4 separate regions of the Homo sapiens genome follow, and regions 2, 3 and 4 are each linked to region 1. Evidence: promoter capture Hi-C in human tissues and cell types (Jung and others, 2019). All regions are on one chromosome and are shown on one strand. Each heading gives the region's core, a stretch centred on a gene start or on the middle of the fragment in contact. The rest is flanking DNA. Distances are from core to core; before and after follow the strand shown. Region 1 holds the start of NFAT5 (nuclear factor of activated T cells 5). Region 2 holds the start of SLC7A6 (solute carrier family 7 member 6). Region 3 holds the start of LOC105371321 (a long non-coding RNA gene). Region 4 holds the start of ZFP90 (ZFP90 zinc finger protein).

What was found. The method cuts DNA at HindIII sites, captures the fragments that hold promoters and counts their contacts. A contact is called where the count stands out against the background at its distance.
Region 2: a contact is called between the fragment with the promoter of SLC7A6 here and the fragment with the promoter of NFAT5 in region 1, in 1 of the 25 tissues and cell types used here (liver).
Region 3: a fragment that was not itself captured here is called in contact with the fragment with the promoter of NFAT5 in region 1 in 1 of the 25 tissues and cell types used here (dorsolateral prefrontal cortex).
Region 4: a contact is called between the fragment with the promoter of ZFP90 here and the fragment with the promoter of NFAT5 in region 1, in 1 of the 25 tissues and cell types used here (hippocampus).

The regions. Positions count from the first base shown.
Region 1 is chr16:69,564,535-69,567,367 of GRCh38, reverse strand. It overlaps NFAT5 (nuclear factor of activated T cells 5), which reads right to left and starts at 1,402. Exons shown (of 15, transcript NM_138713.4): 1 at 994-1,402. The coding sequence starts at 1,066. MIR1538 (microRNA 1538) reads left to right here and starts at 1,500; the gene lies at 1,500-1,560. RefSeq lists silencers at 607-916, 937-1,206, 1,501-1,677, 1,397-1,776 and an enhancer at 2,438-2,833. The HindIII fragment of the contact is 19,415 bases long and covers 1-2,833 here.
Region 2 is chr16:68,263,089-68,265,921 of GRCh38, reverse strand. It overlaps SLC7A6 (solute carrier family 7 member 6), which reads right to left and starts at 1,396. Exons shown (of 11, transcript NM_003983.6): 1 at 1,346-1,396. LOC124903704 (a long non-coding RNA gene) reads left to right here and starts at 1,465. Exons shown (of 3, transcript XR_007065096.1): 1 at 1,465-1,554; 2 at 2,508-2,735. RefSeq lists an enhancer at 1-858 and a silencer at 1,231-1,510. The HindIII fragment of the contact is 30,530 bases long and covers 1-2,833 here.
Region 3 is chr16:68,515,772-68,518,604 of GRCh38, reverse strand. It overlaps LOC105371321 (a long non-coding RNA gene), which reads left to right and starts at 2,588. Exons shown (of 4, transcript XR_933693.3): 1 at 2,588-2,833. The HindIII fragment of the contact is 5,166 bases long and covers 1-2,833 here.
Region 4 is chr16:68,537,941-68,540,773 of GRCh38, reverse strand. ZFP90 (ZFP90 zinc finger protein) reads right to left here and starts at 1,483. Exons shown (of 5, transcript NM_001305203.2): 1 at 1,295-1,483; 2 at 949-1,016. The coding sequence starts at 981. The HindIII fragment of the contact is 20,432 bases long and covers 1-2,833 here.

The DNA of each region.
Region 1 (2,833 bases), core at 153-2,652:
CCTTGCACAGGGAACCTGTTCTGACACATTCTTGTGGTGTCCAGTAAAGGAATTTCACCTGAGTAGGGATCAGCTCCAGTGCTAATATTTCAGATGCTGGGAATCCCCTGCAGGCCTTAGCCAAAAGAGTTCTTAAATGAAAAGTCTCTGCCTGAGCTCCCTCCCTGCAACCAGCCCTTGAACGGAAAAGCAGAGAAAATTCTCAAAGGACAGCGTCTGTGCCTGGGCTGGTCCTCCTGGGAGAGGAGAGGAATAAAACCAATCCAGAGAGGGCACCCCCATCTTTGTAAAGGAGAAGGGAGAAGTAATTAGAATGCCACGGAGGTGGGAAGAGAAAAAAAAAGAAAAGAAAATTCGGGCCCTTTCCATCGGGCCCTTTCCAGCAAGAAGATGACGAGGAAAGGAAGAACGCCTGGTCGAGGGGGGCTGTCCCAACATGGGGAGGGAGTGGACTAGGCCGGAGGGAGAGGGGGTGGAACGACGGCGCAAAAACAAGCTGGAAAGGGAGGAAAATGGTGACCCTGCACTCAGAACCGGCTCCAGGCCACGCCGCCCGCTTGGGGGCAACTTTGCTGGGGAGGAGGGTCCCGGTAAGAGAAGACGCGGCGCCCCGATCGCGGTGGCCCCAGCGCGGGGCCCAGTCTGGGGCCATCCCCGAGCCCGGGAGGCCGGGGCCGGCGGCTCGCGGAGCCTGGCGGGGCCGGACGGGCTGAGAGCGGCTAGAAGCGACCGGTGCCGCAGAGCCCCGGGGGCCGACGGAATCTGGGCCCCGAGCGGCCGGCGGCTCCGCGGGGGAGGGGCCGCCACTGCTCCGCCCGCCCCCTCCACCGTCACCCCGATCCCTTCGGCCTCTGCCCGCTCCGGCCAAAGAAGCCATGGGGGTCGCGGCTCAGCCGCCCCCGGCGGGACGGGGACCCCTCGCCTCCCCTGGCCCTGTCTCCCTGTCTCCCTGTCTCCCCGCCCCCACGCCCCACCCCCCACAGCCTGACTCACCTCGCGAGTAGAGGGACTTGGGCGATTCCAGGTCTAGGTCCGCGCTGAGCAATGAGATGAAGTCCGAGGGCATCGCAGCTCGACCCAGCCCGGCCCGAGGGCAGCGGGAGGGGGGGAGCGGCGGTGGCGGCGGCACCTCCTCTCCGGGACCGCGGGCACCGAACCGGGGGCGGCGACGCGAGGGCGGCTGCCGCTGCCTCCTCCTCGAGGGTAGTGACTTCCACTGGGCCGAGGACCGAGGAAACGATGGCGAGGTGGAGGGGGAACTCCACGGGGACTGATTCTCGGTGACCAGGAGAGGGGTTCAGGACGGGGAAGGGGAAGGGGGAGAGCCAAAGGGTCCGTTTCGTGTTTCTCCTCAGCGAAAACTGACGGTCGCCGCCACCGCCGCCGCCGCTGACAGGAATCTGAGCCCCGCCCCCGTGGGGCACAGCGCAGGCGCGGAGGGGGGTGCCCGGGAGCGCGGAAGAGCCGTGGCGGCCCCCGGAGGGCGGGGAGGCGCGCCAGGGAACAGCAGCAACATGGGCCTCGCTTCCTGCCGGCGCGGCCCGGGCTGCTGCTGTTCCTGAGCCGGGAAAGGGCCCCGCTGCCAGGGTGGGAGGGGGGGAGGCTGGGAGGTGGCCGCGCGCTGGGGCCCCGGGGAGGGAAAAGGTATTTGCAACGACCTGGTGGCGGCGAGCCTGAGGCGGCCGGCCCCGAGCAGAGCTGAGCGCAGGAGACAGAGCCGAGAGAAGCGAGAGGTCTGCGCGAGCCGGGGACGGACCCCAGAGGCCGGCGGCGGACGGGCCTGGCTGGCCCGGGGTCTCGCAGGGGACCGGAGTGTCATCGCCCGGACAGCCGCCAACCCTTTGGGGTTTGCATAGCAGTGTGTACAAAGGGACTGTCAAACCCATTTCTTAATTAGGAAATGGCAAACCGTATCCCAAAAACCTCGAGTTATTGATTTTTAATTAAAGTACTTTCTCCCCTAACACTCCCCTCCTACCTTTGGAGGCTGAAATTTTTTTTAAAAAAAACGATCTCTCTGATTGTGCTGGGGCATCCGGGTTATTCGGAGTGGGACATAGAAGACAATTAAAAAATTGGATCATGTGAATCCACCTGGCTGTTCTAGAGGAAAAACAGGTAAAAAGCAAACCTCAACGCTACTCTTCCAAACAGTTTTTCTTTTTTCTGTTTCTTTTTTTTTCCTTTTGGACTAGGCAAAGATGGAGGAAGAACGCATTTAACTGAGTTTTTGCTCTTGCTTTTCTGTTCGTGGAGCCAAAAGTTTCCGTTGCAAAAATTTAAAATCCTCACCCACACCGCAGAGCGTTTTCTGATTCTAATAGACTTCTGAGAAATTTTTAATCAAGTTATTGAAATATTACCTGGAGTGCAGGGTGTGCATCTTGGGAAGTAATTTTAATCTTGTGTGGAATATTGATGCCAGTAGCCACGTGGGCATGGTTTTTAAGCTATTCGAATGGTTTCGTTTTTTATCTACAAGGATAGTTACAACTCATGAAAATCAGTCTGTTGTAATATGTGTATGTGTATATATATGCACACATATATATACATACATATATACACACATATATACATATATATATAATTATAGAGACTTTTTCCCATGAAATTGAGCAGTTCTCGGGACTTGGAGTGCTAGGGTTGGGGTAAGAAGCTCTCAGCAAAGGAGGGCCCAGTACAGATGTCGCTGAGGCAAGGCCCTTTACAAAGTTTTACCTGTAGACCTAGAATTTAAACGTGTGTCATCAGAGCTCACCTATCTTTCATCTCAACATTTGATTCAGGTTGCCCAGTTGTCTTCACTGAATTGTGTGTAGTAATCAATCCT
Region 2 (2,833 bases), core at 147-2,646, 1.3 Mb after region 1:
GGTCAGGAAATTTCTTCTACTAAGAAGTTCCAGGGAGATGGGGATCATAAAACCGGTATATGCAATAAAAATACATCCACGGCCAAATAGGGAAGGAGGACAAGGAGAGGAAGAGAGGAGAAAATCAGGCTGGTGGTTTTCCACACACTTGCCAGGAAAATAAACTCCAGTGTAACGACTTGAATAACGATCTGAGATCAAAGTTGGGAAGCAAAAGCCGTCTGCGCAGCACACATGGGACCTGAGTAATGCAGGCAGCCTGGGCAGGTCCCCAAAAGGCCTCACCGCCACCAAAAAGAGGTGGAACTGATATAAGGAAGTACTCACAGCCTTTCAAGTCTGCTCCTCCCAGATCTGAAATCTGGGAGCAGTTCTGAGAGACAAGCCCCGGATGGCTGGGCACTGAACAGCCGCCCTGCGAGATGAGCTGCCCTGGCTTTTTCCCCTATCAAGGGCAGAGACTGAATTCTTTTTAACTGTGTCACCAAGCCCAGGGCATACAAGAGGTACTCAAAAACGTGTTCGCCGACACCCTGATTCCTATTTATACTGACCATTACACAACATGTTTGCTTAGAGCCCAGCAAAGAATTTTCAGAATGTTTCACGTCTATCTCCCCACATTCAGGAGAGATAGTCACACAAGATGACAGGCTATAGGGACGCTCAAAAGAGCCATAATCACCAGGGGCACGCGGGTTCCCCAGCGCCAGCAGCCCAACGCTCCAGGCTCCAGCACGCCACAAAACCTTGCGGCATTCTCTAAAGTAAAAGGACTGATTTTAAAATGATAATCGTCATTCTTGCGACAGCCCCAGGAAGCCTGGCTCCTGAGGTCCTGAGCCCGCGTCTTTCTTTGCCCCACCGCGGCCGCCACACAGCACAGGTTCTCCGTCCTGCAGTCGGAGGCGCAGTCACAGCCCCACTCAGGGTCACCGTCGCACAGTCTCACGCTCGCGGCGCGGCCCGCGCACTCAGCGTCCCGGTCACCCTCGCACCTGGGGTTTCCCTCTCCACACACACCCCCGGTCTCCCTCACACTCGCCGCGTCGCCAGCACACCCCAAGACTGGCTCCCTCGCGGTCACCATCAGCCTCCGGGGCTCGCACCCATACAGCGTTTCTCCCACACTCGGCCCTCACGCTCGAGGTCCCTCTCTCCTCGTGGCGCCCCCCCTCACCCGCAGCGCCTCTCGCGCGGCCCCGATCGGCCAGCCCCGCGCTGTTTCTGGGCCGCATCCCGCTCCCGACGGCGGCAGCGAAGACCCACAGGGTTCGGCTCCCACAGAACGCGGCCCAGCCCCGGCCCCGCTCCCGGCGCGCCCGCCCATGGCCCAGCCCGTTACCTCCCAGTGGCCCGGCGCCGCCAGGATGCTCGGTCGCGCCGCCGCCGCCGCGGCAGCTCAGGCCCCGCCCCGCCACGTCACCCGCCGCCGGATCGCGACAGCGCGCGCCGCGTCGGGACACAGTTCCGTGCGGGGCCAGCTGGCGGCGGCGCTTCCGGGCCCCCGTGGCCGCCACGGCCTGGCCGGTACGGGGTCCGCCGGCCCAGAACGTGAGCGTGGACGCCAGACAGCCCCCAGCTGCCTCGTCAGGGCTCGAGCAGCCCGTGAACTGGGCCCGGCCACGCTCGCCGCCCTGGAGTTAGATGGGGCCTCCGAGGGCGTCCACAGCGGACATTCCCGCGGGGAGCTCTCATCGGCCCCCGCACCCCGTTCCTATCTCGCACTTGACCTGGGCCCGACGCCCAGGGCGCCCCCTACAGCTCACACAGGGATCCAAACGGCCTCCGCCGCCGGGCCACTGCCACTCGCAGTCTAGGAACCCCAGGAAGACACACACTCTGGGGACTTGTCCAAACACACGCACAGCTCAGACTCGTAGCCCTTGAGGCCCCCGCACCCACAAAGAAACTGCAGGCTCCCTTTGCCAACCCCAGGCCTCCCTGGGGCTCTGTCCTCATCTTCCCAAGAGGGCTGCCACCCCTCTTGGGGGAGCTGCACCTCCTGCCCCCCCTCTTGGGGGAGCTGCACCTCCTGCCCCCTTCCCCTCCCTCTGTTTGCTCCTCCATCTTTCTCTCGAGTTCCTTTTCCTCTGGTGGCTCTGGGGCTCTCTGTCTAGAGCCTCCTGACCTCATGGGCGCCTGAGCCCTCCTCCGAAATTTCCTGTCCACACCTCAAGCACTGACTTTCTCCAGGGCCCTGGAATCTTTTCCCCCAGCCTTATGACCACAAGTACACGTCCTCTGGTTCCAGACCATACCCAAGACCCTGCTCCCTGCCACCCAGTGACAGGGACCCAGCCAGAGATGGGTAGCACCTCAGACCCTTCCTCCCCACTCCTCCCACGGCCTATACCTCGTTTTCTTCTCCCCAGCCACAACGGCTTCTCAATCCCTATCCTGCTCCCCTTACCCCATCTCCACAGAGTAGGGGATGCTCCTAGAATACAGATTGCGATGACTTTGTATCTCCCCTGCCTAAAACCCTTCCATTCTCCTCTCTGCAGGCCTGGGATGACAATACTTGAGGAATCCTCGCTGGTGCTGCCCTCCTGCCCTCTGCTTGGAACCCCTCCCCTAAGTGTCAGTGAGTGGACGTATATATTTGGATCAATCGAGTTGCACCCTTTGCCTCCCAGATCAGTTCCTCCGGCCTCCCTGGCTGAGCAGAAGGACAGCTCTGGACACTTGTGTCAGCACCCAGCCCACGTGTCCCTGCCACAGCTTCATATAAGGTATGCCGGCTCAGCCGGGCCTGGTGGCTCACGCCTGTAATCCTACAACTTTGGGAGGCTGAGGCAGGCAGATCACCTTGAGGTCAGGAGTTCGAGAC
Region 3 (2,833 bases), core at 184-2,683, 1.0 Mb after region 1:
GTGGTGAAATCATAACTCACTGCAGCCTTGAATTCCTGGGCTCAACCAATCCTCCTGCCTCAGCCTCCCACGTAGCTAGGACAACAGGCGTGTCCCACTATGCCCGGTTAATTTTTGTATTTTTTATAGAGATGGGATCTTGCTTGTTGCCCAGGCTGGTCTTTAACTGGCCTCATGTCATCCTGTCACACTGGCCTCCCAAAGTGTTGGGATTACAGATATAAGACACCGCACCTGGCCCCTACATTGCAACTTTCTGTTCATCTGTCGGTCTTCCTAGCTGGCCAGGATTTCCTGTGAGCCGGGGGGAAGCTGAGTTGTATATTTTATTAATCCTCAGCCTTTAATATTCATGCCCTGAATGAATGGGTTAATGAATGAATTAATATAAGTACAGCTTCTTGCAAAAAACAAATAAGAAACACCTCAGTTCACAGGGCTGGCACTCTCTGATTTCCAGTTCTGTCCCCTGCCACTCTCTCAAAGGTATTTGGTCATATGTTATTAAATTAAAGTGAATTAAAATTTGCTTGAAATAACTACAGACTCCCCCGCTCTCCTGGGCCTGCAATGACCAGATTACATCTCCTCCAGGCACAGAAGTTTGACATTTCATTGCAAAGTCATTTTCTTCTCATTTCCTTATGTTGCTAAAATATTCTATTTCTCTTCACTTCCCCTTTGTGTCCCCATTACTCACGTTTAGTTAAATTTATCTGCTGCCATTTAATCATCTGAGATAAGCTTGCTGGTGTGGCTGTTCTTAGGGCACTGCCTCGCCTTCCCAGACCGTCTGTCTCCTCCCAGGCCACTCGGAGAATGGGATCCAGACCCCTCCCCCTGGGGACAGAGTGTCTGGGTTACCTTCAGACCCTGGGTTTCTCCCCAAGGCAACTGACTTCAGGGTCCTCCCTGCCCCCAACCCACCCACCGCCTTCCTCCCCAGCCTCCTCCTCTTCTGTTTTCTGGGGTATGGTTTTCATTCCGCCTCCTGACCTGGCACTTCTGTGGCCCCTTTGGTCACACTGAGCAAGTGGCCTCATAATTCTTCTCTCAGTGGGATCAATGAGTAAATCCTTAAAGGGACAAAATATCTAGCAGAGTAGCCAATGTGGGAATTGTTCAGTGCCTGCTTGGGACACTGCCAGACCCACCACATTCCCAGAGCTGGCTGGGGTACCCTTCTCCTCTCTGGCCTACCCATTCTCACAATGTAACCAGGGGAACATTATTCTCCCTGGAGGTAGTTGGTGGAGATCAGAAAGGCACATTTTGCTGGGCGCCGTGGCTCACGCCTGTAATCCCAGCACTTTGGGAGGCTGAGGCAGGCAGATCACATGAGGTCAGGTGTTCGAGACCAGCCTGGCCAACATGGTGAAACCCCATCTCTACTAAAAATACAAAAATTAGCCAGGCATTGTGGCCGGCGCCTGTAACCCCAGCTACCTAGGAGGCCGAGGCAGGAGAATTGCTTGAACCCAGAGGCAGAGGCTGCAGTGAGCCAAGATCGCGCCACTACACTCCAGCCTGGGCAACAGAGCAAGACTCTGTCTCAAAAAAAAAAAAAAAAAGCCTCCTGGGAAGAACAAAAAGACATTGGCAGAAAGAAACTGAAGGTTACTCCTGGGCCAAGGGGCAAAGAAGGGGTTGTCAGGGGACTTAGCCTAAATTTCAATGAGGGACAAAGGGAAAAGAAACTCCATAGGGTCAGTGTAAAGGACAAAGGGAGACAAATAGAAATTGTTTTATAGTTATATTTTATGAGTCACGTTTGTAGGACTATACATATATTATTTATATGTCATTTAATTTCTTTCTTTAAATAAATGTGCTTTATTTAATTAATTTATTTTTTGAGACAGGGCCTCACTCTGTTGCCCAGGCTGAGTGAAGTGGCACAATCACAGCTCACTGCAACCTCAACCTCCTAGGCTCAAGAGATCTTCCCACCTCAGCCTCCTGAGAAGCTGGGACTACAGGCGGGTGCCACTATGCCCAGCTAATTCGTTTTCTTTCTTTCTTTTTTTTAAGAGATAGGGGTGTCCCTGTGTCACCCAGGCTGGAGTGCAGTGGTGCAATCATAGCTCACTGTAGCCACAAACTCCTGGGCTCAAATGATCCTCCTGCCTTGGCCTCTTGAGTAGATGGGACTATGAGTGTGCAACACCACACCTGGCTAATTTTTTAAAAGGTTTTTTGTAGAGATGGGATCTCACTGTGTTGCCCAGGCTGGTCTTGAACAACTGGTCTCATGTGATCCTCTCACCTCTGCCTCTCAAAGCGTAGGGATTACAGGTGTGAGCCACTTTGCCTGGCCTAAAATGTACTTTATTCTTGTGTCAATTCAAAACGTATGCATCTTTCTAGAACAAGATCCTATCTCCGGTCTACATTCATCGATATTTTCTATGATCTACAATTGCATCTAGGTCAAACAATCTATTATCTTTATTATTTCCCAGTTTATGCTCTTAAACTCTTATTTCGTTTAATTTTCACAACAACCCTGAGAGAGAAGAGCTCTTGTTCTTTGTGTTCTATGTCTCAGGACCAGAAATTAAGAAAGGGGTCCAAGGAGTAAGGGACAAGAGCCAAGGTTGATTGGAAAAGTCAGGCCTGGCATTTGGGGATGTAGGCAGTGGTGGTGCCAACAGGTGGTGTCAAGGGGCTTTAGGAGCGGGTGTCAGCAGCTGCCATGGGCTGAACGTTTATGTCCCTCCACAATTCACCAATGTGATTGTATTAGGAGGTGGGAGTCTTCGGGAGGTAATTAGGTCATAGGGTTGGAGCGTGCTCATGCTGGGGATTAGCGCCCTTATAAAACAGGTTCCAG
Region 4 (2,833 bases), core at 234-2,733, 1.0 Mb after region 1:
TCTCAAATTCCTGGGCTTAAACGATCCTATTGCCTCAGCTTCCCAAAGTGCTGGACTTACAGGTGTGACCCACTGTACCTGGCAACTTGGTATTTTTATTTGAATTGATCTTGATGTCTCACACACCTAGCAACTACAATCTGTCATTTTCCCTTAATTCTAAAGAGAATGTAGATTCAAAGATACAGATACCATCTGGATCTTGATGTATTTTCACCAATATGTAAATCAATGGATAACCTTAGAGTTGTGACGCTTCTAGAAAATGCCCCCTCTGCCACAAGAATAAATGGGTTCACGAATCAGCCTCACATTAAGGTGAAGGCTGGACTTCTGGCGGTGGGGAGTGAGTTGCTCTATTACATTTTTGTTAAAGCAGAAAAGGACAGACACAAAAAGCTCTGGGAGAATCAGCCCTGGTTTTATTTTTGGTTGTTTTTTATTTTGTTTTGTTTTTGCCTCCTTGCCCAAGAAAGCCCATCTCCAGCCTCTTCCTAGACATGTTCTAACCAGGCTTCTACGGCCCCTTACGGACTCTCTATGGGCCCTGGGTCAGAAGCTGGGGCTCCTCTCTCCACACTTGCCGACAGTCACTTCCTCCTCTACAGTGTTCCATCCTGTGACCCCACTCTCTCCATTTCTTATTGACAAGAGTTCAAAAAACTGGCGTGGCATTCAGGACTCTCAAAACTGACACTTCCCAACGCATCCAATCTCAACTCCTCCCACAAGATCGCACCACACTGGCCCTCTCTACCCCACAGAGCAGCCTCCCCTTTGGGAATCCAGCTCCCCAAAGCCTGGGGTTTTCCATGGCCAGGAGGCTCCGATCGAGCCAAGCAAGTAAGGGAGTCGCCAGGCAGAGAACAATGACTGCTCCAAACACCCTTGGGAGATGGGATGGATAGATGGATGGGATGCCCAGGAGGTTAGGAACGCGTTGCTCACCTGGGGCGCGGCGGTCGGAGGCCTCGGGGCCATTCCTGCCTCGCCAGGGCCCGGCTCCGGGGCAGGAGCTGGGGAGAAAGGACAGGGCCCACTCACCCCGCTGCAACACCGACCCCACCCCGCCCCGCCCCGCCCCACCTCCGCCCCTAAACCACATCTCCAGGGGAGATGGTGGCGAGGACCGTGGAACCAGCCCGGGCCTGCCGCTCCCCATCCCCGAAATGAAAGGCTCAGCGGCCTCCCGGACACCCCCCTCCGGCCACGCCCAGTCCCCTTCGCAGGGTGGTGGGCGAGGCCCGGCTGACACCCGCCAAACCCAGGAGGGGTCCCGCCCAGACCCGCGCACTCAGAATCACCGCCTCTGGGGGGCTCCGGATTTCGCGACCTCCGGCCCACCCAGAGCCTCGGGCAGCTCCTCCCGCCCCCGCCGAAGCCTCGGTTATCTCCAATTCTGATCTGCGGAGGGGCTGCCCAAAGGGGCCTCAGCCGCACCGGGGTCGGACAATGGCCGCAGCGGTGGGGCAGAACTGGAAGTGCGCCTGCGCACTCGGAGCCTCGCTCCTGCAACCCCGGGTCCACGCCGGGCGCGCGAACTACACTTCCCAGAGGCCCGCGCGCGCAGGCCCCGCCTAGGCGGCTTCCGAAGGCGCGTTAGGGACCCTTGCGAGGGCCGAGGGAGGCGGCCAGTGTGGCTCGAGTGTGCGTGTCCCTGTATTCCAGTCACTGTCCGCCTCCTCTTTGCAAGGGGCTTGTTGCTAGCTGGGGAATCGGCCGGGAAAGACCCTGGTTTCGGGGAGCAATCGTACGCCCCTTTCGACGAGGCTGACGATAAAAACGCAAACATGTCAACAAGATAATGTCAGGTCCTGACTTCAGCGGTAAGAGTGACACAGGAAGGGAGTGAGACAGCGTCAGAGGGTGGGGCATTTACATCTTCTTCAAAAGGCAATTTTCCATTTCTCATTTTAGAGAAAAAAGAAACTTCGGACAAATCCGTGGCCTCCTGAGCAATGTGCAAAGGCAGATCTACTGCCGTGTTATTTCATTACTTCGTATCCCCTTACGCAGGATTTTGTTTGGGACAAGCAAACAATGATGGAAATTTTCTTTTTTTTTTTTGAGACACAGTTTCGCTCTTGTTGCCTAGGTTGGAGTGCAATGGCGCGATTTTGGCTCACCGCAGCCTCCGCCTCCTGGGTTCAAGCGATTCTCCCGCCTCAGCCTCCCGAGTAGCTGGGATTACAGGCATGCGATGCGTCACCAGGCCCGTCTAATTTTGTATATTTAGTAGAGACAGGTTTTCTCCATGTTGGTCATGCTGGTCTCGAACTCGCCTCGGCCTCCCAAAGTGCTGGGATTACAGGCATGGGCAACCGCGCCCGGCCCGATGGAAATTTTCAACACAAAGATAGGTCAACTTTTAGATACAGCTATTACGTTTATGTAATTATGTCTTATATATCACAGACATTCAGGCTACATTTCCTAGATTTCAGCTTGATTTCTTAACATTAGAGCATTGCATACCAACATGGTAGAAAATGACTGCAACGAAATGTTCCTGATGTCACACTGCTTTATCAAAAATATGAACATTCAAAAATAAATGCTTTATGCCGGGTGCGGTGGCTCAAGCCTGTGATCCCAGCACTTTGGGAGGCTGAGGCTGGCGGATCACCTGAGGTCAGGAGTTCGAGACCAGCCTGACCAACATGGAGATAGCTCGTCTCTACTAAAAATACAAAATTAGCCAGGCTTGGTGGCGCATGCCTGTAATCCCAGCTACTCAGAAAGCTGAGGCAGGAGAATCGCTTGAATCTGGGAGGCAGAGGTTGTGGTGAGCCGAGATTGCACCATTGCACTCCAACCTGGGCAACAACAGCAA